6 separate regions of the Homo sapiens genome follow, and regions 1, 2, 4, 5 and 6 are each linked to region 3. Evidence: promoter capture Hi-C in 16 types of primary human blood cells and fetal thymus (Javierre and others, 2016). All regions are on one chromosome and are shown on one strand. Each heading gives the region's core, a stretch centred on a gene start or on the middle of the fragment in contact. The rest is flanking DNA. Distances are from core to core; before and after follow the strand shown. Region 1 overlaps SMG6 (SMG6 nonsense mediated mRNA decay factor). Region 2 overlaps RPA1 (replication protein A1). Region 3 holds the start of OVCA2 (OVCA2 serine hydrolase domain containing). Region 4 overlaps SMG6 (SMG6 nonsense mediated mRNA decay factor). Region 5 overlaps SMG6 (SMG6 nonsense mediated mRNA decay factor). Region 6 has its middle 78 kb from the start of RPA1.

Region 1 (3,764 bases), core at 155-2,654, 150 kb before region 3:
ATGTGTTGTTTTTTTTGAGACAGGGTCTCTGTCACCCAGGCTGGAGTGCAGCGGCACTGTCACGGGTCACTGCAGCCTTGACCTCCCAGGCTCAAGTGATCCTCCCACTTCTGCCTCCCAAGTAGCTGGGACTACAGGCAAATGTTACCACATCCAGCTAATTAAATTTTTTTTTTTTTAGAGACACAGTCTTGCTATGTTGCCAGGGCTGGTCTCAGACTCCTGGGCTCAAGCAATTCTCCCACCTTGGCCTCCCAGCGTGCTGGAATTATAGGCGTGAGCCACCGCGCCTGGCCAGGTTTTAAGAGTTTTATATGTAATCTGGTTACTAGTTCTTCGGCAGATATGTGGTTTACAAACAGATTTTCCTAGCCTATCATTTGCCTTTTCATCTTTTTACAGGGTCTTTTGCAGTGCAAAAGTTTTTAATTTTTATGAAATCCAGTATATCAGTTTTTCCTTTTATGGATTGTACTTTTGGCATTAAGTCTTAGAACTCTTAGTCCTAGGTCCTGAAGATTTTCTTCCATTTTTTTCTAAGAGTTTTATGGTCCTATGTTTTATATATAAGTCTTCGATCTATTATGAGATAATTTTTGTATAAGTGTGAAAGTTAGGTCAAGGTTTTATTGCTTTGTTTTTTTGCATACAGATGTCTAATTGCTTCAGTACCATTTGTTGAAAAGATATTCCTCCTTTTAATTTTATTTTAGAAGAGGTGGGGTCTTGCTATGTTGTTTACGTTAGTCTCAAACTCCTGATCTCAAGCAGTCCTGCCTTGGTCCCCCAGATTGCTGAGATTATAGGCATGAACCACCATGCCCGGCCCCTTTCTTCATTAACTTAACATCAGGGAGAACGATTTCTCCCGCTTTATTCTTTTTCAGAATTGTTTGAAATGTTCTACATCCTTTGCTTTTCCAGATAAGCTTTAGAATAAGCTTGTCTTTATCTACGTGAAACGTTCCTGAGATTTTGATAGCTGTTGCGTTAAACCTATAGATCTATTGTCTACATAAAACCTTCCTAAGATTTTGATAGCAATTGCGTTAAACAATTAACTGGCATCTCTACAATGCTGAGTTGCTCAGTTCATGAACATGGTAACTCTCCCCAGTTTTTAGGTTGTCTTTTATTTTCTGGGTTTTGTTTTTTTGAGACAGAGTTTGTCACCCAGGCTGAAGCGCAATGACGCATTCTCGGCTCACTGCAACCTCCGCCTCCTGGGTTCAAGTGATTCCCCTGCTCCTGCCTCAGCCTCCCGAGTAGCTGGGATTACAGGCACGCGCCGCCACGCCCAGCTAATTTTTGTATTTTTAGTAGAAACAGGGTTTCACCATGTTGGCCAGGCTGGTCTCGAACTCCTGATCTCAGGTGATCTGCCCGCTTCAGCTTCCTGAAGTGCTGGGTTTACAGGCGTTGAGTCACCATGCCTGGCTTTGTCTTTGATTTTCATCAGCATTTTCAGATTTTTAGCATAGCGTTTCCGTACGTTCTGTTAGACTTATACCTGAATATTTCATTTTCTTTGTCACTATTGTAAACGATGGCATGTTTTTCATTTTGGCTTCCACACAGTCATCATCTCTGAGCTCTTTGTGCAGCACTGTGGTTGGAGTAGTCTGAGCTTTTCATGTTCATAGCAAAGGAGAGAGGAGCAGTGGGAGTGTGACACTTGAGTCACGGGCGTGTGAAAATCAGATATGCAAACAATGTGGGCATGAGAGCAGACAGAACTGGATTCAGATCCCAGCTCTGGCACTTTCTAGCCTTGTGTTATTGGGCAGGTCATTTAGTCTCTCTGAGCCTGTTTCCTCAAATGTCAAAAAGGAGAATAATACTCAGGCAATCCTTTTGTAAAGCTTTGAGATAATATATATAAATATTGTTTGCCTAACATAGGTCTCAAAATGTCTTAGTTATTATGTCTGGCCACAGTGGAATCATGTCATTCATGGTTAGATCCAAAGTGAGAGAGGCAAGTGTGCCTACTATTATGAGCAGCAAATGTTTCTTGAACCTCTCTATGGTGCTGATTTCCAAGGATGTGAAGTCTTGACATAGCTCTTGCCCTCAAGGGGCTTATAATTCTGTTGAGGAAACCTACTGTATGAATAACAATTCCAGGACAAGGTATTGCTTGTTAAGTTCCAAATAGGTGGGCAGACAGTGTGAGTGCATCAAAGAACCTTCTCTGGGTTTTGTTTGCCCTTTTGTACCCTGTCCATTGAGGTGGCTTCTGGATGTTGTTGATGAGAGAATGTGTGGAGGTGGGAGAGGGTGTGTACAGATTTAGGGGAAGGGTGTCATGTGGGAATATGTAATTAATTTTTATACTTTCCCCAGTAAACCATCGACCCTTTTTATGATGTCATGAGGGATTCCTTAATTTTGCAGCTGCTTCCTGATTACGTCAGAGAGGAGCCTGTCACCCCACAGCCTGGAGCTGTACTCGTACAAGAATTGGAAACAAATGAAGTGCCGAATATCTAATGGCTTCCACAGGGAGCACCAGTTCAGACTTCCCAGGCCGCCTCTTGCTAGGTCTTCCTCAAGTATTTCTGACCCCCTGAAGTGTCTTTGTTCTGGAAAGACAGGACTTGGCCCAGAGCCAAGAGGGAGGGAGCCTGGGGACTCCTTGACACATACCTCTCTCCCTCCAGGTGTTTTGCAGTCCTGAGTTTCTTCCCCCTTACTTGGATCTTGTTTGGTGAGTTGTTACTCTTCTTGAGTTTTCAGGATCCTCTGGAACCTGCCGAGAATACACGTGAGAGTCTTTGACCTGCTCCAGCAGTCTTCACCCCTACGTACCCCCTCAACAGCATTATCTCCAGCCTCTTTTGATGTTTCTTTCTTTTTTTTTTTGTTTTGTTTTGTTTTCTTTTCTTTTGGTAGAGACAGGGTCTTACTCTGTTGCTCAGGCTGGTCTTGAACTACTGGGCTCTCAAGCAGTCCTCCTGCCTCAGCATCCCAAAGTGCTGGGATTACAGGCGTAAGCCACCATTCCTGGCCTCTTTTGATTTTCTTTCTGCGGTAATTTTCATATCTGTGCACTGCTTTTCATTCCCTCTTCTACCTCTATTATAAGAAGATGTTACCCTTACTTGGCATTATAAACTTTATGAGTGCTTTACATGTAATTTCGCTTGCTTCAAACAAGTTCATGCTCTCTTAGCTTCCCAACTGGTCTCCCTCATTGTTACCTTTTTCCAGCTACCCTAATTAGTCCTAAATGCTTTAGCTAGATTAATCTTTATAAAATATTCACTCATTGCTTCATCCAAGAACATTGAGTGAGTGCTCCCTCACTGTTGAGTCAAGTTCATGTTCCCTGTTCTGGCATTGCAGGCCCTATACTTTGTGGTTCCAGGTAGAGCACAGCACACACAGTACTTGCGTGCCTCAAGTAGTACATGTGGTCCCCCCTGCATCCACCAACTCCATCATTGTTCATCTCTTCCAGCCCACCTTAGAAATGGTCTCTTCTGGCCGAGCATGGTGGCTCATGCCTGTAATCCCAGCACTTTGGGAGACCGAGGCAGGTGGATCACTTGAGTCCGAGAGTTCGAGACCAGCCTGACCAACATGGTGAAACTGTGCGTGCCTCTAATCCCAGCTACTTGGGAGGCTGAGGCGGAAGAATCGCTTGAACCCAGGAGGCAGAGGTTGCACTGAGCCACAGTTGTACCACTGCACCACTCCAGTCTAGACGACAGAGTGAGAATCTGTCTCAAAAATAAAGGTCTCTACCATGAAACCTTCTC
Region 2 (3,761 bases), core at 28-2,527, 170 kb after region 3:
ACCTCCCAGTGCTTCCAGTACACCTGCCAGCAAATCAGACTGTTTCCAGCTTCTCCTGCCCAGGAGGCTACTTATATATTTAGAAAACTACTTTCTACTGCTACAAACGCTGTCATTTAAGATCAAAGATTTTATTTATGACCTTAACCCTCTACTCCAGACAGCATCAAAAGACTATGACAGAGGGAAAAGCACAATAACAATCATGCTTCTCTCTGGCCTACTATTATTCTTCACCTCATAGGCCCGCAGAGCTGAGCCTTCTGTTTCTCGGCGAGCCCACTGCCCTCCGCAGAGCTGAGCCTTCTGTTTCCCAGCGAGCCCACTGCCCTCCGCAGAGCTGAGCCTTCTGTTTCCCGGCGAGCCCACTGCCCTCACTCCCCAGCATGACAAACACTCACACTTTCGTCAACCAGTTCTAGGGAGAAAAGCTTCCCTTCCCCTCGGGAGTTGCTCCAGGTACGGATCTGACTTTTGTTGGTAACACGAGCACAAATGGTCCACCTACAAACCAAATCGATCATATTAGTGTATGGGGTCTTCCTTGGAAAAGATCAAGTAAGAAATCATCTTCCTACAGCCTTTCTCGTCTTACGCATATTCCGTTTTCCAACCTGTATTTTAATCCAGCTAATTAAAACCCCAAGATGACACATGGGTTTGACAGTTTACAGAATAAGCAAATAGTAAAACATGCAAAGTGATTTAATACTAACTCATTCTCCTGTCAAATAAGTAAATTTATAAACTCTCTCCCTTCTCCAAAAAGCATCACCAAGGCAACCATATCCCCTTAATGAAAGGTTCTAAGCTGGAAAATACAGTAACACCAGCAATTATATTTTGCCACAGTTTTCAATTATGGGAACTGATATAACTGGTGTTACACTTCTGTCTCATTCGTAACACACCCTGAATAGAATACACGATGTTGGTGGACCATCAGGAAGAACACACTGAAGCAGCATGACCTTAGAGAGAAGCATGGAAAAAGGAGGCACAGGGCACATTAGGTACCCCACTTATAATTTCACAGGGAAAAATATCTTTCCTACGTTACAGAGTATTGAAGAATAAATATAAACATATCTGGAAGGATTCTGAAAAAAGAACTCTAATTTTTAACTATTCAAATTACTTTATTTTGTTTATTTATCTTGAGAGACGGAATCTCACTCTGTTACTCAGGCTGGAAGGCAGTGGCACAATCTTGGCTCACTGCAACCTCCGCCTCCTGGGTTCAAGCGATTCTTCTGCCTCAGCCTCCTGAGTAGCGGGGATTACAGGCGTGCTCCACAACACCTGGCTAATTTTTGTATTTTTAGTAGAGACACGGTTTCACCATGTTGGCCAGGCTGGTCTCAAACTCCCGACCTCAGGTGATCCACCCGCCTCAGCCTCCTAAAGTGCGGGGATTACGGGCATGAGCCACCGCGCCCGGCTTCAAATTAATTTTTGGTGGAAAAAAGTCATATAAAAGAAATTTATGTTCAGGGTATGTTCATGTGTTTAATACAAATAGTGCAGATTATTTTAGCCAACTAAACCAAAGACGAAGTCACCTGTTTATAGGAGAAGATTAAATGCCTTTTGAATTATCAGAAATATTTATTTTTACTCATAAGACTATCAACTGATTAAGCATTAAGTATTTTTAATTTCAAATTCTTTCAAAATGAATGAAACCCCACAGGCTATGGCAGATTGCTATTGTTACTATATTTTCCAACAAGAGTTAAAAGTTTGCCACAATTTGTACCCCTTTCCTCCTCAGCAAAAAAAAAAAAAAAAAAGAGTAAACCCATTCTATTTGGTGGTATTTGGTGGTGACCCTGAAGTTCACGCATAAATAACTCAAGAGTCCATAATAGCTTCTCCGATTTCATAAGTACACTCTGAACTTACTCTATGCAACAACTCACTTGGACTGGTAAGGAGTGAGGCTGGCAATGGGCACCACTTTGGACTGTGTTCCCCCAGAAGTGTGTGACAGGCTGGGACCTGCAGCTTTTCCAAATGTCTTTGAAGCACCATAAGCCTTAGAAACAGTAGAACCTTTAAAAACAAACGCAAACGAAAAGGAGTTATTACTATTCTACTTAGCTTTTTTATAGTAAGCTTTACAATAACTCTAAATTTTGGAGGTGCCACTAGTGAAATCATATAACATGAGAGGCAAAGCTTTTCCTTTTTATATGCAAGAGATACGCAGATCAAATAGAGACTGAGGCTGGAGGCTACAAAAGCAATCTAGGATGAAGGCTGCGCACACAGCAGCTCACTGCTATGTTTGCTGATGTCAGCCCCGAGGTCAAAGTAATAATGGTGACGAATCCAGACACTGCTGTTTCTGAAGGCCGCCCTCTTAAACACTTCTCTTGCCTCAACGGGCAAGATAATGGGTGAGAAAAAGAAAATCAACTTTTGTAACTGGTAAAACTGATGGCAAGGCACTAGTCACATGAAGAAAGACAGGATGTAAGGGACCTATCACAAATAGATCGCCTCCAAATCCCCAGACAACTCCCAGATCTCAATGCGTCTGAAGGACTAGCAAGTCTAGAATGAAGTCTGTAAGAATGAGTTTCGTCGGGTGCAAAGGGCAGGAATCAGTTTTTGGTCAAGATATGTTAAGTGGGTGACCACTAAGACCCTTCCGCCTCCTTAATCCAAACCTAAGCAGCTGCCCTGCGCTGGGAAAGAACAGGGAATCAGGTGAGTTCTTTTATACGCACCACGTATCTGCAAAACTCAACGTCCAAATTCAGAAAATATAATTTAGTTCAGTGATTTCATACCCTCTACATCAAAACATTTCTTCAGAATAGAATTTGGCTAAAAATATCAATACACCATCTATCCAGTATTTATTTACTGGGTTTCCACGGCATGTGCCACACCCTTCTAGGCATTCGTAGTAATTAGTAAAAAATATACATAGGAGTGTTTCTGTGTTGAAATTTTCTAACTGGGGAGTCGAGAGAGATCAATACACACACAATAGTAATTACCTCAAGATCGTGTAAGGACACACAGGTACTTTGTAGAATACATGTGTATACCCATACATAATATATAATTTTATAAAACACACACAAGCATCCATTCATCCAATCTATTTCATGCTGGGTAGCTTCTCCTCAGTACACATCCAGTTCATTTCCTTTCACTACATAGTTTAGGGAACATTAACTGATTTTCATTTTTTTGAGACAAGGTCTTGCTCTGTCCCCCAGGCTGGAGTGCAGGTGGCACGATCTTAGCTCGCTGCAGCCTCAAACTCCTGAGCTCAAACGATCCTCCCACTTCAGCTTCTTGAGTAGCTGGGACTATAGGTGTGCACCACCACGCCCAGCTGATTCTTAAAAAGATTTTTTTAGAGGGATCGGGTCTCACTATGTTTGGCTGGTGTCAAACTGCTGGGCTCAAGCAATCCTCCTGCCCTGGCCTCCCAAAGTGCTGGGATTACAGGTGTGAGCCACTGTGCCCAGCCCAGATTTTTAAAAATATATTTTAACATAAGGCAAAGATAGACAACCAGAAAAATAATTCTGTGGAGGGAGGGAGAGGAATAACGTACTATTTGTATATAAGCCTAAGGAAATGATTATTTACCACTTTAGAGAGTCTATTTCACCACTCTCTTCAAAAGTGTGTGTGTGTGTGTGTGTGTGTGTGTGTGTATATATATATATATATATATTTTTTTTTTTTTTTTTTTTTGAGACAGAGTCTCACTTTGTTGTCCAGGCTAGAGGGCA
Region 3 (3,328 bases), core at 829-3,328:
GTTGCAGTGAGCCAGGATCTTGGCCACTGCTCTCCAGCCTGGGTGACAGAGTGAGCCTGTCTCAAAAAAAAAAAAAAAAAGAGTGAGCAATCCTCAAAGTATCCAAGAACAACTACACGCCCCAAGGGGAAAACCAGCTGGATTGCTTAGGCCTTGGCTGTAGTCACTAAAGAATGGCATCAATCTCAGAAACCCTCAAGATGGGGTCAATTTAGGAAGAAGCTGTTTATTCTGTACTGTCTTTGGCCTCCACCTAAGGTCTGGCATCGACCCACCCTTCAGGCTCATAGTTCAGCGAGGTTAGAGCACTTAGGGAGAAGCAGGTAACACATCCAGGGTTTGAGAGAAGACCAGCACACAACTCTCAGTGATCTGGATAGAGGAAGACTAAATTACTGTGGTTCAGGCAGCCTTGCCAGGTGATGTCTTCCCAAAACTTCTCAGATGTATATTCCTCCCTGATTGTGCCACCTAGGCCTCCTTCCCTTCAGTTTGGGACTTAAAACTTCCACCAATAACGTGAGTATGTGCACCCATGCAGCAGCCTGTCCGAGGACTCACAACTGGAGACACCTCCCTGCTTGGCGCTGCCCAGAAAACTATGTAGATGGCCAAGAAACCGACTTCCATTATAAAATGTTTTTCTGTGTGTACCAGGAAAAAGATGCTCAAAATCCAAATCACCACTTTATTATGTGGCAGTCACCATGGTGCCAGCCTCTGCCTTCCCCATGTCACCCTCCTAATCCAGGGCTCTCCAACCATATTCATGTTTGCGTTTTCACAAGTCAATGTCCATTAAGGCCTTGTGCTCCCCTTTTCTTCAGTACAGGGCAGGGCCCTTATAATTTGGGTCTCAAGAATTGATAGTTGTCTCTTAACTGGTTCTGGTGAGGCGCACTCACAGCAGTGAGTGGAGGGTCCTGGGAGGGCATGGATGACGGAGGCTGCCCCTAGAGGAGCTGGATGTAGGAGCAGAGACATTTCTTGATCTTTCACTCTGCAAACTGGTCCAAGAACTTGAGGTAGGCCTGACGCTGGGGTGCAGCTGCTGGAATGAAGTGGCCACCAGAGTGGGTGAGGGTGATGGCTCCGGGAAATTGGCTGGCCAGTTGCACACTCTCCTGAGAGGGGATGACTTTGTCAGTGTCCCCAAAAACATGGAGCGAAGGCAATGACAAGGGCCTTTGCAGGATGGATTCCTTGAACCCAATGCCCCGGGGACAGAAACCAGACACCAAGAGGATAAACCGTGGCAAGGGGAAGCGGGGATCGCCTGCCTGGCCCAGGGCACACACAAGGGCTGCTAGCGCAGCCCCTTGGCTGAAACCAAGAAGGCCGTCAAAAGGCCCCAGCCTGTTCAGTGCCTGTGCCACCATCCCCAGTGATTCCTCCAGGCCCCTGCAGACGGCGGGCTCTTCCAATGCGGAGAAAACGTCGGCCTCCTGCTCTGAAAACCACCAGCCTCGAGGCTGCTCCTCCGGAGGGCAGGACCCTACAGCGATATGAGGAAAAAGGATGGGATTAGGGCATGGGAGGCTCCAGGAAGGAAAGAAATGAGAAAGGGCAGGAGGGTTCGAGATGACAGAGAGAAAAAGGGAATCGAGGCAAAAGTCTGGGGGAAATGAGAGGGGGGAAATGAGTGGATTGGCCTGAACAGGAGACAGCGGAGGAAGACGGTGAAGGCGGAAGCCTGGGAGGACAGGCTGCAGTTTGAGCAAAGAGGGTATGGGTCGCGAGAAATGAAGGGTGTGGACTGGGTGGGAGGAATGCGGGTGGACGCAGGGTGGGGGATGCTGAAGGGTGTCGAGGGGGACGAAACAAGATGGAGGAAACTGAGTGCGTTTCCGGAGCGGGGCTTGTCTCACCGAAGTCTGATCTGGCGCCCTCGGGGCCCGGGGGGTCGGGGACCGGGTGCGGGCCGCTGAGGCACACGAGCTCGGCGCGACCCCGCAGCGCCTTCCTCAGCGCCCCGGTCTTCTCACGGAAGCCCCGCTCGCTCTGCCGGAAGCCCGCCAGGCACAGGACCCGCAGGGGTCGCTGCGCGGCCATTATGCCCGGCAAGGAGCGACGGAAGCACCGGAAGCGGTCTTTCCCCGAGCGGAAGCACAATGCACGGGGCGGAACCGAACGTCAGCACCGCCCCGAGGGCGGGCCTCGGAGCGCCAAGGCGTTCCCATGACAACGGCAAAAGGCGGGGCGCACCCAGAGCGGGGGCTGATACCTGAGGCCCGGGAGCGCGTCAAGGAGCCAGCGGCGCCACCTTCTCGTCCCTGCAGCTGCAGTCCTCGCAAGCCACGGCCGAAGGGGGACGCGCGGACCCCTCCTGCACCTGAGGTCGCAGACTTTGGTTAGGGTCTCGCTCCTGCGACCCTGCGTTTCCCTCCGCTCCGCTCCTGTGCGTTTCCCGTCGCGGTCGCAGGGCGGCGGCCAGTGCCCAGGCGCGGTCTCTCCTCCCTCCTGGAAGCCCCCGCCTACCTTCCCCCGCGCGGGCCGGCCCGGGGCGTGGGGACGGCGGTCCTGGCCGTGGTTCACCGTCCAGGGCCCCAAGGAGCTGCCAGCGTAGAAGTCCATCGGGTAGGGCTGCTGCCAGGAAATGTCCCTCAGAGCCACGGCCGCCTAGGGGAGGGGAGGGAGGGACAATAACATCTGCCAGTGTTTTTCTGCCCCTGGATTACTGAATTCAGTCCTCACGACGGCCTGTGAAGGGCACACTGTCCCCTGCCACAGAAGGGAACTGTGTGGTTCAGGGCCTTGCCTAAGGCTACACAGCTAGGAAGTGACTCCGCTGGAGAAATCGAGACAGACTCCGGAATCTACGAACATAACGAAGTGCTGCCCACCCACCCCACTCCACTCCAGACCTCACCTTTGAGAACCACGTCCAAAGCCCACTCTCTCCCAGAGCTTGGTGTTACCTCATAGGGTGTCAGCAGCGGCTTGGGGAAGGCTGTGCCCCAGTCAATGGAGAGACGTGGACATGCCACCTGCACCCACCTGGGAAGGGAAGCCAGGTCAGACCCTAGGAAGGGCCTCCTCGTCGCCCAGGCAGCATGCTGAAGAACATGACAGTGCCCCCAGCACACCCATTCATTAACAGGCTTTATGAATCCTAAAGTAAAGACAGTGACCCACTGCTGTTTGGAATACTGTATTGTTGCGTGTTTTCTCCTGTTTCCTCTGCCGACAATGAGCTTTCCAGGGCAGCTCACTGGTGATAGTATCCCCAGAACCACATTTAGTACCTGGTACAGGGCAGGTGTCAGCCACCGCTCAAACTCATCTCACAAGGACAAATGTGATGTTGCCATTGCCTCTGAGCCCCAAA
Region 4 (3,720 bases), core at 112-2,611, 140 kb before region 3:
GAGGCTATACATATGAGGGTGGCTTTGGAGAACTGAAATCAAATAAGGCGCCGACCCCGAACATATTGGGGGCAGTGGATGGTTGAGGTGCTCTGATACTTGAGAAATCCTGGAACGAGGTTACTGTGACCTATTGCTGGCCATAGGGTTCCAGCTGCCCTGCTTAGAACATGGAGAGGTTTATATTCTTGCAGTAGGGCAGGATGACTAAGCTTCAGAATTTGATTTGCCCTTTTGGGCAAAATTGATTTAGGGTGAGTACTCTCCCAAAGTCCCAAGTCGACTTGTTGGTATAAATGAGAAAGATAGAAGGGATTACCTTCATCTAAGTCTGGTCTCTTTAGGGGTCACCCAGCAAACATCTCTTATTCTTAGAGGATGGTGTCTTGCTGCTCATATCTTAACTCCTGGAATGGTGGCCTTTGATACCTTTGTCTCTTCTTTGTATCATGTGGCATCTGGATGACACATTGTTGCTAGAAATCTCCAGGAGCCGCATAGAATTCTCCCCATCTCCAGCCCAGCCCAGGGCCTCTTGAGCTACCTAGCACTGAGGTACCAGAATCAAATCCTTCGCCCAATGCAAACAGAGTTGGCATGACATCTTGGCTTTCCAAGAGGCATGCTAAGCCATTTCAAGCCCGGGTATTATTCTTTTAACTCTGCCACACTTATTGGATTCAAGTCCATTTCTGCTATTAGCTGCTGAATTCCTGCAGTTTTCTCCAGTGGAGTGAGAAGCTCTCCAGGGCAACAGTGGTCTTATGTTAGCCTCTGACCCCTGCGTGGACAGTTGTAGGCTAGGATATAATGGCCCACAGGGAAACCGTTTGAAAAGGCAGATATTGCATGTCTTAGGCGTGGTTCTCTTGTTACAGCCATTTGTCTTTGTGTCTGTACCACATGGGTGTCCTCTTTTTCAGCTTCTTTGTGCCTAGCTTCTGTGCCATCTTGGCTGTATTTCCAGATCTCCTCACTCCAGGAACCAGAAGACCCAACTTGTTTCCCATCTGTACTGCTTCTCTGATCTTCCATAGCTCTGAAACACAATGCACGGCTTCTTCTCACTCAACTCTTTCCGGGTTTGTTCTGCAGCTGTGGAGTTTGAATGTTAGTGTTTAAACAAGCTGGTATTACACAGGAAATGGCCACCTCCACAGGCCCCAGCAGGCTTGTAACATGGGGTCATTGTACTTGATGTTAATCACCAGTCAGCTTGTTCCCCCAGTAAAATATGAAGGAGTGTGTGAGTGCCTCATCCTCCTTAGACTTGCCAGGAAGATGGACTGAGTCTTGGTCAGGCGTTGGTGCTCCACTCTTTTCAGACTCTCTCCTCCTCTCAGTCCTGCCCCAGTGGAGCTTTCAGAAAAAGTCCTGCCTGACTCCTTCCCTATGAAGCTGGCAGACTGCCTTTCTGAGTTCTGGGCAAGAAGGTAGATTATTGTGGTGTGACGTGTCTCACCTGGCATACCTTAATCTGTCAGAGGATGCTGCAGTTGGGTAACCTCTCCTGTGAGAAAAGCAAAATTTTAGGAACACAGAAACCCATGGCCCCTCTGAGAGCAGGGCTTCTCAGTTCCCTGGACGTCAGCTGCCTTTCTACAGCTATTTGCAGAACTCACCTCAGCCTGAAGGGTTAATCTGATTCCGGAGTCAATATCCCCCAAACAACCAGCCAGGAGTGTGTGTTGGTTTGTTTCTGTGAAATGTGTTTCCCCAGTCACCTGGGCTGGCCTGGGCTGCATTGTATCGGCCAGCAGCTGCACTGCACTCAAACTGACAGATACATTAAACCTTGGAATTCTGAGGCAATAAAAAGTAAATTAACTCTTATTTTTTTCCTTTCCTGGTGGACTAAGTGAATGCATGTCTGTAGGGAAGCAAGTGAGCCTTGGTTCTGAGTGCATACTTGTAACTAGTCACTGCTGGTTTGTCCCAAACTCGGATCTGGCTTTCCGACTCCAGCCAGGGCTCTGCCGTCCTGGTGTGTGGTGTGTTCTGTGGGGTTGGGCCAGTGGGTCACCTTGCAACTGCTGATCCCTGCTCTCTAATCACATCACAGCTGCTGAGAGACTCCCTGGCCATCATTCTGGGAGCCATAAGCAGGCTCATTGGACACAGTTGCGTATTCTCTGGCTGCTTTGTGTCTGCTTGGTGAACAGTCCACCCTAACTTTAGCGGGATATTGTGGACTCTGGGAATTTCCCTAAAATATGCATTGAACCAGAACAAACCAGAAGGACCTGCATGAGTCCACAGCACTCTAGAGGGTCCATTTAGAATCAAAAGTTGTTTGAGATTATTTGGGAAACCTTCTGGGAAGTTATTTCCCAAGCATTTCCAAAAGATTGGCAGCTGTTTACAGATCCTCATCGCCACCCGAATTTGACTTTTGGCTCCTTGGCCCTGGCCAACCTTGAATCCATAGGGCCTAAGGGCTGCTGTCGGGTGAAGGCTAGAAGGTGCTCCTGGTTGGGATGAGGAATTAAAGCAGGAAAAAGCTAAGCTTTTCTCCTTCTACAGACAGGAAATCCTATGTGCACCCACAGAACTGACCTCCCAGCCCAGAGGCCTGATTGGGGTAAGCTGAGGTGATGTTGCCCAGCTTCCAGGAATTACCTCATCCTTTTGCAAATATCTTAACTTTTGAGTTCAGACATCTCACCTGGTTTTTCAAAGCACCTCTTCCTTTGAGTTTCCTGACACTCCCTCACTCCTGTAGAGAGTCACTGTGTCGCCCATGGGTCTCTGGGTAGTTGTGTTGTGTTCATGTCTGTGGTGTTCGATGAAAGGAGATAACTGATGATATGAATGTGAACTGAGTTTGGGTGATCCCACTGAAACACCAGAAGAAGGCAGCTACTCACAATCAGAGCACAAGACCAATTTGAATTAACCAGAGCAGAAGTGACCTCTCATTGAAGCATTTTGTGTATTTCCTTGGTTCTGCACAGTCTAGCTTGGCTCTTGGACCACTTTTATTTATATTTCTGAGTTGGGAACTCTGGGCACTCCCTGTGTCTTTTGGCATCAGCTGCTTTCTTACAAATCAACATTGAGGTAGGGATTCTCGTCCACCTTATTTTTGCAGTGAGTCTCAAGGTTTTGGTACAAGGTGGGTGGTAATGGGCAAAAAGGCGTATGTGGGCAGGGGTCCCTAGTGGTGGCCAGCAGTCTCTGGGAGGAGTCAGTTTTGGTTTATCTGAGCCTTAGGGGACAGGAGAGCATGGTAATGAGAACCACATGGTACCACATATTTCTTCATCTTGGATCCAAGATGGTAGGGGTGGGAGGATGAGAGAGGGATGTGGGGCCTCCCACTGTGGCAGCCGTGGGTAATTTTCGGCCGCCTCTCTCTGGCTGGGGATGCTGCTGCCCACACCACCCCCAACCCCCAACTATGTCCTGCAGCAGCCTTGACCTGCACGCACCAACCAGGGCCCCCAAGCCAAGAATTCAGCTGGGAGACTTTTCACCTTCTTCCTTCTCACTGTCGTCTTTCCTGTTTATTTTCCAAATTGCTGCTCTGCAGCCGAGCAGTGCCTGTTGGCCAAAGCTCACCAGTGCTGTGGGATCAGACTCAGGCAGCGGGCTCAAGTGGCCAGCAGGGCACTGGGGGAGGAAGCGGGGAACTGGAAGAGCCTCCCTGTGCGTCTCCCATGGGCAGCACTAACCTCGGAGGCGGCCCTGAGCAGCCCTATCACATCCGGTGCTTGTCTC
Region 5 (3,407 bases), core at 354-2,853, 220 kb before region 3:
AGGCGGATCCCGAGGTCAGGAGATCGAGACTACCCTGGCTAACACGGTGAAACCCCGTCTCTACTAAAAATACAAAAAATTAGCCGGGTGTGGTGGCAGGCGCCTGTAGTCCCATCTACTCGGGAGGTTGAGGCAGGAGAATGGTTTGAACCTGTGAGGTGGAGCTTACAGTGAGCCGAGATCGCGCCACGGCACTCCAGCCTGGGCAACAGAGCGAGACTCTGTCTCAAAAAAAAAAAAAATAATAATAAAAATAATTAAAAATACATAAATAAGTAAATACATTAAAAAAGAAAGCTTTTGGCCTGGTTCTCTCTGGATAGCACAAGCACTGATTTAATCTATAATGATAAAGAATAGTTGAGTCTCTGCACTAGTAGGTAAGTGCTTTATCTGTGATAACCCAGTTATTTCATTGTCTCATAATTATATCATCATGACAGAGAAAGCCAGCTTAATTTTTTGGCCTCATGGATATAAAGACTCCATATCTTGCTGGGAACAGTGACTCAACGCCGGTATAATCCCGGCACATTGGGAGGCTGAGGCAGGAGGATTGCTTGAATCCAGGAGTTCATTCATGACTAGCCTTGACAACGTAGGGATACCCTGTCTCTACTAAAAAAAAAAAATTAGCCAGGTGTGGTGGGTGGTCCTAGTTACTCGGGAGCCTGAGGTGGGAGAATACTCTGGTCTGGAAGGTTGAGGCTGCAGTGAGTCTTGACTGCTCCACTTCACTCCAGCCTGGGTTACAGAGTGAGACCCTGCCTCAAAAGAAAAAGATTCCGTATCTGTAAGGTGGGCATCAGAAAATTTTTTAGGGTTTTTGTGAGTTGACTTCATGTCTTTAATTAGTCCTATGCTTTTGTAAAGTAGTTTGCAATATGTACCTCAGGCTGTACTCTTCACTCTGGAAGCTATTTGAAAAGTGTGTGAACTGCAGTTTGGCAGCACGTGATGACAGCAGTTCATTAGAGCCTCTTTCTGTGGGAAGAAGCAGATTGGTTTTCTTTTTCTTAGGCCATGAGAAACAGCTTAGTGGGATCCTCAAAGAAGGTCAGAACCAGAACCGGGTTTTTCAGATGTTGATAATGTGAGGTGGGTTGCAAGGAGCAGCCCCTGGTAGGCAAGGATTGGGGCTGCTTTGTCCAGATCACTGCTGGACTGTAAGGCTAATGTCTTTGTGGTTGGTAGTGAGTGCAAGTTTCTCAAAGTACATCAGCCCTACCTATAAACCCTTAATGCCCCAAATGACCTCGGTCACCAAACCACTTCAGGGCTTTATTTTTATCCTATCCGTTTTGTTTCAATATGTGAGGTTGGTTTCTTTCCTCTAACAGAGCAGAGTTCTCTGGGGGAAGAAACAGAGTGCCAGGGTGCTGCTGAGGCTGGTTAAACACCAAAACCACACTCTTCATCTTTCTGGGGTTGAGACGTGACATAAGCCATGCTGCAAACGCCAGCTTCCACACTGAAGAAACCTCTCTCAGTAGTCACTTTGTTTATTTTTTGTGTATTGTGTTTTTAGGCAAATAAAATATAGAGGAGTAAATGGTGTACCTTCCCATTCTGCTGTAGACAGAGATCTAACAATGAGCACTTGCTTAAAATCTGCCATTTCCCAGCTTAAGGTTTTTCATCCTCCCCGAGAGTGTTGATGAGAACTCTCAAAACTCACCAGGTCTCAGGAAGCCGGATTACCAGCATATCCTGTTCGCGTGCGTGTGTATATTCTGTGTTACCCACAGGCCACTTTCCACCCCACGTGACCTTTAGTTACCATCCGGAAAGTCAGGACCCAGATACCCGTCAGAATTTCCAGGCCTTGGTTTGGTTTAGACATTTTAGAAGATGTTAACAGCAATAATTGTAAAAGACTTTGAGTGGCACGCATGGTGAACAGAAAGTACTAGATCCTGAAGAGGGGGGAAAGGCATTTCTGTGCTCTTCCTGGTAAAGTGTTTGAAAATGAACATTCAGAAGAAAACCTAAAGCACCTGAAATGCACAGGGGACGAGAATGAGAGGTGATTAGAAGCCCAACACATGCACCAGTTCTTAGGTGGTAAGGCTAAGTTCTGAAGTTCATATTTCATTCTTTAAGATTGTCATATGCATTATTGGTGTTGTTTATAGCATACTCCATCACACTTTATTTTAACCAGCATCTCTAAATTAATATAAACAGACTAATGATTCAGGTAATACCCTAGAACAGGGATGGGCAAAATATTGCCAGTGGCCTATGAGCTAAGAATGGTTTTTACATTCTTATGTCAGGAGTTGTTTAAAAAGAGCAACACGAGACAGAGATGTACGTGGCTCACGAAGCCTAAATTATTTTCTGTGACCTTTTACAGAAAAAATTTACCACTGCTGTAAAAGCTGGGAGAGGTGAATGCAGTTAATGATAAGGTTCTTCTGTTAGGAAATTGATTGTTAATGAGAATGTTATCGCCTTTTAAGCAGACAGTTTTTTTTTTTTGAGAGGCAGTCTTGCTCTGTTGTCCAGGCTGGAGTGCAGTGGCGCAATCTCAGCTCACTGCAACCTCCGCCTCCCAGGTTCAAGCGTTTCTCCTGCCTCAGCCTCCCCAGTAGCTGGGACTACAGGCTCCTGTCACCACCCGCTGCTAATTTTTGTATTTTTAGAAGAGATGGTGTTTCGCCATGTTGGCCAGTCTGGTCTCGAACTCCTGACCTCAGGTGGTCAGCCTCCCAAAGTGCTGGGATTACAGGCTTGAGCCACTGTGCCCGGCCGACAGTTCTTCATTATGCAGGTCTGACCTTGCAGGATGTTTAGCGTTCCTGGCTCTGCTCATTAGATGCCAGTAACGGCCCACACATACTTCCAAACAGTTCCTGGGATGGGTGGTCATATTCTGGTTGAGAACCACTACTTTTGAAGCTTGACAAGGTCAAAAACATTTTGTTAAGGTTTACTCCTTCATTTCCTCTCAGAGAACCTGACTTGGGATTTGGATCTTGATGGCCTAGGGATTAACAATAGTGAGAGAATTTGAGTAGCTAGTGGAATAGGGAGAGTTTTCAGTAGGGTGGAATACAAGATTTTAAGGAAATTTTTTTTTTTTTTTTGAGATGGGGTTTCGTTCTGTCACCCAGGCTGGAATGCAGTGGCGCGATCTCAGCTCACTGCAACCTTCGCCTCCTGGGCTCAAGCAATCCTCCCCTCCCAGCCTCCTGAGTAGCTGGGACTACAGGCACACACCACCATGCCCAGCTAATTTTTGTATTTTCCGTAGAGACGGGGTTTCACCATGTGGGTCAGGCTGGTCTCAAACTCCTGGGCTCAAGCGATCCACCCACCTCAGCCTCCCAAAGTGCTGAGATTATAGCTATGAGTCACTGTGTCCAGCCTAGGAAGTAATTTAATGTTGCGTTTGTTGCTTG
Region 6 (3,749 bases), core at 1,245-3,744, 130 kb after region 3:
GGGGGCACCTTCCTACAGAATACCTCCTGGAAACCTATATTTCTATTTTGGGGGACCACTCTGCTCCTGCACACGGAGAAAGGAAGAGTTGAGGTTTCCATGGTCATTTTTCGTTACAGTAATGAAAGTCTTGAAATGATCACAGAAGGAAAATTGGAAAATATGTCTCCTAAAAAGAGCTGAGGCAAATTATTATAGCAACCGAATCCTAAAAGGAATTTTCAAGTAAAAATATGGCTCATGTGAAGTTGTTATGGCAACTGACATTTAAAAGTAACTGGATTTGGGCAAGTTTCTTTCCCCACCCTCTCTGCAAAGTCTTGCAGTAACTTCATGCTAAAATTATGCCTTAATTTTAATTAGCCAAATAGGTCATAAATATAGCATATTCCCAAATCCTTACAATTTCTACCCTGTGAGCAGCTGATCTACTAATGAGAAACTGTTTCTACAAAAACCCACTTACCATTAACACGCCTATGCAATATTTTTCTAATATAATTTATCAATTTAAACACATTGCATAATGTGATATTCTGTAGCATTCTATTAACATGATAAATAGCAGTGGGCGGGGGGGAAGCCCAAGAGATTAAACATATTGCAAGCAATGTAACTGCATTTAAATAACTCAGACCACTGCCGAGGAAAACACACTGTTCCCATCGTCAAATACAGTCTAAACTCGGCTGCATATCCCAGACTGTACGGGTATTAATAGGACGGGAGAAGGGGGGCAATAAGAAATGACAGGCAACTTCAAAGAAATAAAATTTCTATTAGGCTTTGTTATAAGATTACATCAAAGCAGTTCATATGTTTTAATCTGGGGAGAGAAGAAGCAGCTACTTGGGGTTTGCGCCTGGGGGCTGCCTCTGTGTACTGAACCAGACAGTTTGCATAATGAACAATTTTCATTCAACCAGGATTTCAGCACAGATAGCTCCCTCTGCAAGGTCCCAGGCACAGGCTCATAGTTTTTATTCTCCCAGCTCCACCTGCTGGAGAAACAGCTTGTAACCGGGAGGAAGGGGACACAGGGCAGCGTTTCTAAGCCACGATGCTAAATTCGGGTGTCTGAAGTTAGGGATCTGACTTTAGACACCCCGACCCGCCGCGCCCCGCCGACAGGGCCTCTGTGAGACACCCCAGGGCGCAGCCTGGATCCGCCCCTGCAGCCGGCAGGGAAGGCGCGGGCGGGGGGTGGGGGTCCAGGCCTGACACCTTCGCCCCTCCCAGCGCCTCCGGAATTAGGGAATTTGGAAATCGTCGTTTGCATTCTGAGTCGAACCCCAGGGAGAATGGAGTTGCTGCAAGGCAGGTCGCCTCGAGAGACTGGCGGACAAGGTGGCTGGCTTCAAACACCAAACGCGGTTCCCACCTGGCCAGTCACCTTTCAAGTTTCCCAGCCACCCGGGTCTCCAGGAAATCAAACGGGGGAGAAAAACTGCCCGCGTGGAATTGCATTTTCATGCACAATGGGAAACCTAAACGCTGAGCAGATCGTCTTGAAAACCTGGCACAGCCGACGCAGGCTTGGAGGACGGGAAGTCCCGGGCGAGCGGCTGCTCCAGGACTCGGGGCTGCGGCCTAATCCGCGCTGATCCCCGGGCTTAGCGCGCGCCCCTCCCCGGCTGAGGTCGCGGGACCCGCAGGCCCCACCTGGCTGTGTCCCCTTGGGGAGGCCGCCCGGGAGGGGAGGTGACATCAAGCCGCGTGCAACTGTTTTCGAAAACCTGGGATGATCATTTAAATGTTTAAAATATGCACATGGTAATTCAAAACTAATTACCCTGAGCACATTTGAAACATTTATGCCATCGTCTCTGGATCCTGCCTACTGATTGTGCGCGGCGGCTCACTCTGCTGTTTCTATAAACTGCTTCAGCGATTTTAACTTCCAGGCTAAATCCGGCAGCGCAGGCTCTGCCTCCCGCCCCTGGTTGGTGGAGAGACCCCTTTCCTGACTTCCAGGAGAGGAGGCTGCACCCCGTTTCCCTGGAGAGCCATTTGTCACGGTCTCGCAGCTCTGGCTACGGAATCCCTGCCCTCGTTGTGTTCATAATGGTCATTTCCATTATTTAATTTAGGTTAAAATGACCTCTCTCCCCACCTATTCCTTTTCTTGTTGTTTTCTCCCCATTTCCCCTTCCTCTGTCTTGGCACGTGGCCCCCATCTCCTAATGACACCCCACCCGGCCCCTTCTCCATTTGGGGGTGCGCATGGAAGGCTTTTGGGGGTTGGGGGTGCACATGGAAGGCTTTTGGGGGTTGTAAGGTGGCCACATCTACCAGCCACCCTGAGAAGCAGGACTGAACTGGGCCAACCTGGGCGAACAGCGGCCACTGCCGGGCACGTTATAGTGGCTGCCAGGGCACACACGTGCACATGCCACACACACGTGTGCACACACACCATCCACGTGCACGCATGCCTCAGACACGGAGCCAGGCCTGCTTACGGACTGGACTAATTAGACCTAGGCAGGTCCTGAAGCAAATTCACTTTCCCAATTTCCAGAATAAAATGAGTTCTCTTCCTTTGGGGGCACTAAACCAGCATGCCGGGCTCAGGGACGGAGAATGGTGATGTGTGGCTGAAACGACCTGACTTCCCAAGTCTATCCGGAGAGACTGACCGAGGGCTGGGATTGGAAGAGGCGCCATTCCGGAGTCCAGAAATTAACATAGGCTTATAAATATGTTCCAGGACACAGACGAGCGATGACTGGTTCCTTATTATGCGAAGATGCCAGTGGCAGGTTTTAGGCGTTTAGGAATACAAAAGTGGGTTAGATTCCCACGGCCGGCTCCAGTGTGATAGAGTGATATTACCAGGTTTAACTAGAGCCATTAAGAGACTCTTCATTATCCCCACACCACCGCCACCAAAGTTATCACAGAAACCATAATGCAAGAGAGAATTTCCATTCCATCAACAAGAGAGGGAGCCAGTCTATCTTTGTCCAGAGAAAATGAGCATCCCAGCACGAAGCTCGTGAGGAATAGAGTGCACAACCCTCCAATAACATGCCCGGCAGGATTTCCTCAGCTATGCAGTTGGCTAAGCGGAGGCAGGCTGCTCCGGCTCTATCTTCTCGTGTACCTGGCCTGCAAGAATGCCAGCTCTATGAGCAGCTGAAAGATCAATTAGTGACAAAGGACACTCCTAGGACTTACATTCCACAGGGCTTAAGTCTTAAGCTCCAAGGAAATGAAGATCCAGGCCGCCCTCCCAGTGTGCAGCAATCTCATTTATTTTTCTACAAAGACTCACCACTCAAACCAAGCTAATTTTCTTGGTATCACCTGCACCTGGTTTACTGGCTCCTGAGCAACGTGCCAGTCCTTCAGTTTGAAATGGACTTTTCTTCCAGCCGATCCTTTTTTTTTTTTTTTTTTTTTGAGACGGAGTTTCGCTCTTGTTGCCCAGGCTGGAGTGCAATGGCGCGATCTCGGCTCACTGCAACCTCCGTCTCCTGGGTTCAAGCGATTCTCCTGCCTCAGCCTCCCGAGTAGCTGGGATTACAGGCATGCACCACCACCCCGGCTAATTTTGTATTTTTAGCAGAGACGGGGTTTCTCCATGTTGGTCAGGCTGGTCTTGTACTCCCGACCTCAGGTGATCCACCCACCTCGGCCTCCCAAAGTGCTGGGATTACAGGCGTGAGCTACTGCGCCCGGCCAGCCAATCCCTTTTTTGCAACTTCACGATGACAACTCATAGGTTTTTTGTCTGCCTCCACCAG

The links. The method cuts DNA at HindIII sites, captures the fragments that hold promoters and counts their contacts. A CHiCAGO score of 5 or more calls a contact.
Region 1: a fragment that was not itself captured here is called in contact with the fragment with the promoter of OVCA2 in region 3 in 14 of 17 cell types (endothelial precursors, total CD8 T cells, activated CD4 T cells and 11 more); the score reaches 12.8 in endothelial precursors.
Region 2: a fragment that was not itself captured here is called in contact with the fragment with the promoter of OVCA2 in region 3 in 8 of 17 cell types (naive CD4 T cells, total CD8 T cells, activated CD4 T cells and 5 more); the score reaches 8.5 in naive CD4 T cells.
Region 4: a contact is called between a fragment that was not itself captured here and the fragment with the promoter of OVCA2 in region 3, in 11 of 17 cell types (endothelial precursors, M1 macrophages, megakaryocytes and 8 more). The highest score is 15.1, in endothelial precursors.
Region 5: a contact is called between a fragment that was not itself captured here and the fragment with the promoter of OVCA2 in region 3, in 15 of 17 cell types (naive CD4 T cells, total CD8 T cells, endothelial precursors and 12 more). The highest score is 14.7, in naive CD4 T cells.
Region 6: a contact is called between a fragment that was not itself captured here and the fragment with the promoter of OVCA2 in region 3, in 4 of 17 cell types (endothelial precursors, M2 macrophages, M0 macrophages and 1 more). The highest score is 7.8, in endothelial precursors.

What each region holds. Positions count from the first base shown.
Region 1 is chr17:2,193,814-2,197,577 of GRCh38, reverse strand. The region is part of intron 10 of SMG6 (SMG6 nonsense mediated mRNA decay factor); the gene reads left to right. Among named protein-coding and RNA genes, the nearest start is that of SMG6-AS1, 110 kb to the right of the region's middle. RefSeq lists an enhancer at 2,396-2,897. The HindIII fragment of the contact is 921 bases long and covers 944-1,864 here.
Region 2 is chr17:1,873,955-1,877,715 of GRCh38, reverse strand. RPA1 (replication protein A1) reads right to left here. Exons shown (of 17, transcript NM_002945.5): 7 at 1,923-2,055; 8 at 402-504. Among named protein-coding and RNA genes, the nearest start is that of RPA1, 46 kb to the right of the region's middle. The HindIII fragment of the contact is 1,687 bases long and covers 434-2,120 here.
Region 3 is chr17:2,040,772-2,044,099 of GRCh38, reverse strand. It overlaps OVCA2 (OVCA2 serine hydrolase domain containing), which reads right to left and starts at 2,078. Exons shown (of 2, transcript NM_080822.3): 1 at 1,869-2,078; 2 at 675-1,495. The coding sequence starts at 2,052. The coding sequence ends at 996. DPH1 (diphthamide biosynthesis 1) reads right to left here. Exons shown (of 13, transcript NM_001383.6): 10 at 2,919-2,997; 11 at 2,479-2,619; 12 at 2,225-2,332; 13 at 202-1,495. The coding sequence ends at 2,243. RefSeq lists silencers at 1,776-1,975, 2,486-2,575 and an enhancer at 2,166-2,225. The HindIII fragment of the contact is 21,411 bases long and covers 1-3,328 here.
Region 4 is chr17:2,175,007-2,178,726 of GRCh38, reverse strand. All of the region lies in intron 12 of SMG6 (SMG6 nonsense mediated mRNA decay factor), which reads left to right. Among named protein-coding and RNA genes, the nearest start is that of SMG6-AS1, 87 kb to the right of the region's middle. RefSeq lists enhancers at 1-23, 785-2,249. The HindIII fragment of the contact is 2,294 bases long and covers 215-2,508 here.
Region 5 is chr17:2,264,587-2,267,993 of GRCh38, reverse strand. The region is part of intron 8 of SMG6 (SMG6 nonsense mediated mRNA decay factor); the gene reads left to right. Among named protein-coding and RNA genes, the nearest start is that of SMG6, 37 kb to the left of the region's middle. RefSeq lists enhancers at 698-987, 1,878-2,087. The HindIII fragment of the contact is 2,607 bases long and covers 300-2,906 here.
Region 6 is chr17:1,906,162-1,909,910 of GRCh38, reverse strand. No RefSeq gene overlaps it. Among named protein-coding and RNA genes, the nearest start is that of RPA1, 78 kb to the right of the region's middle. RefSeq lists enhancers at 1,735-2,242, 2,243-2,751. The HindIII fragment of the contact is 5,203 bases long and covers 1-3,749 here.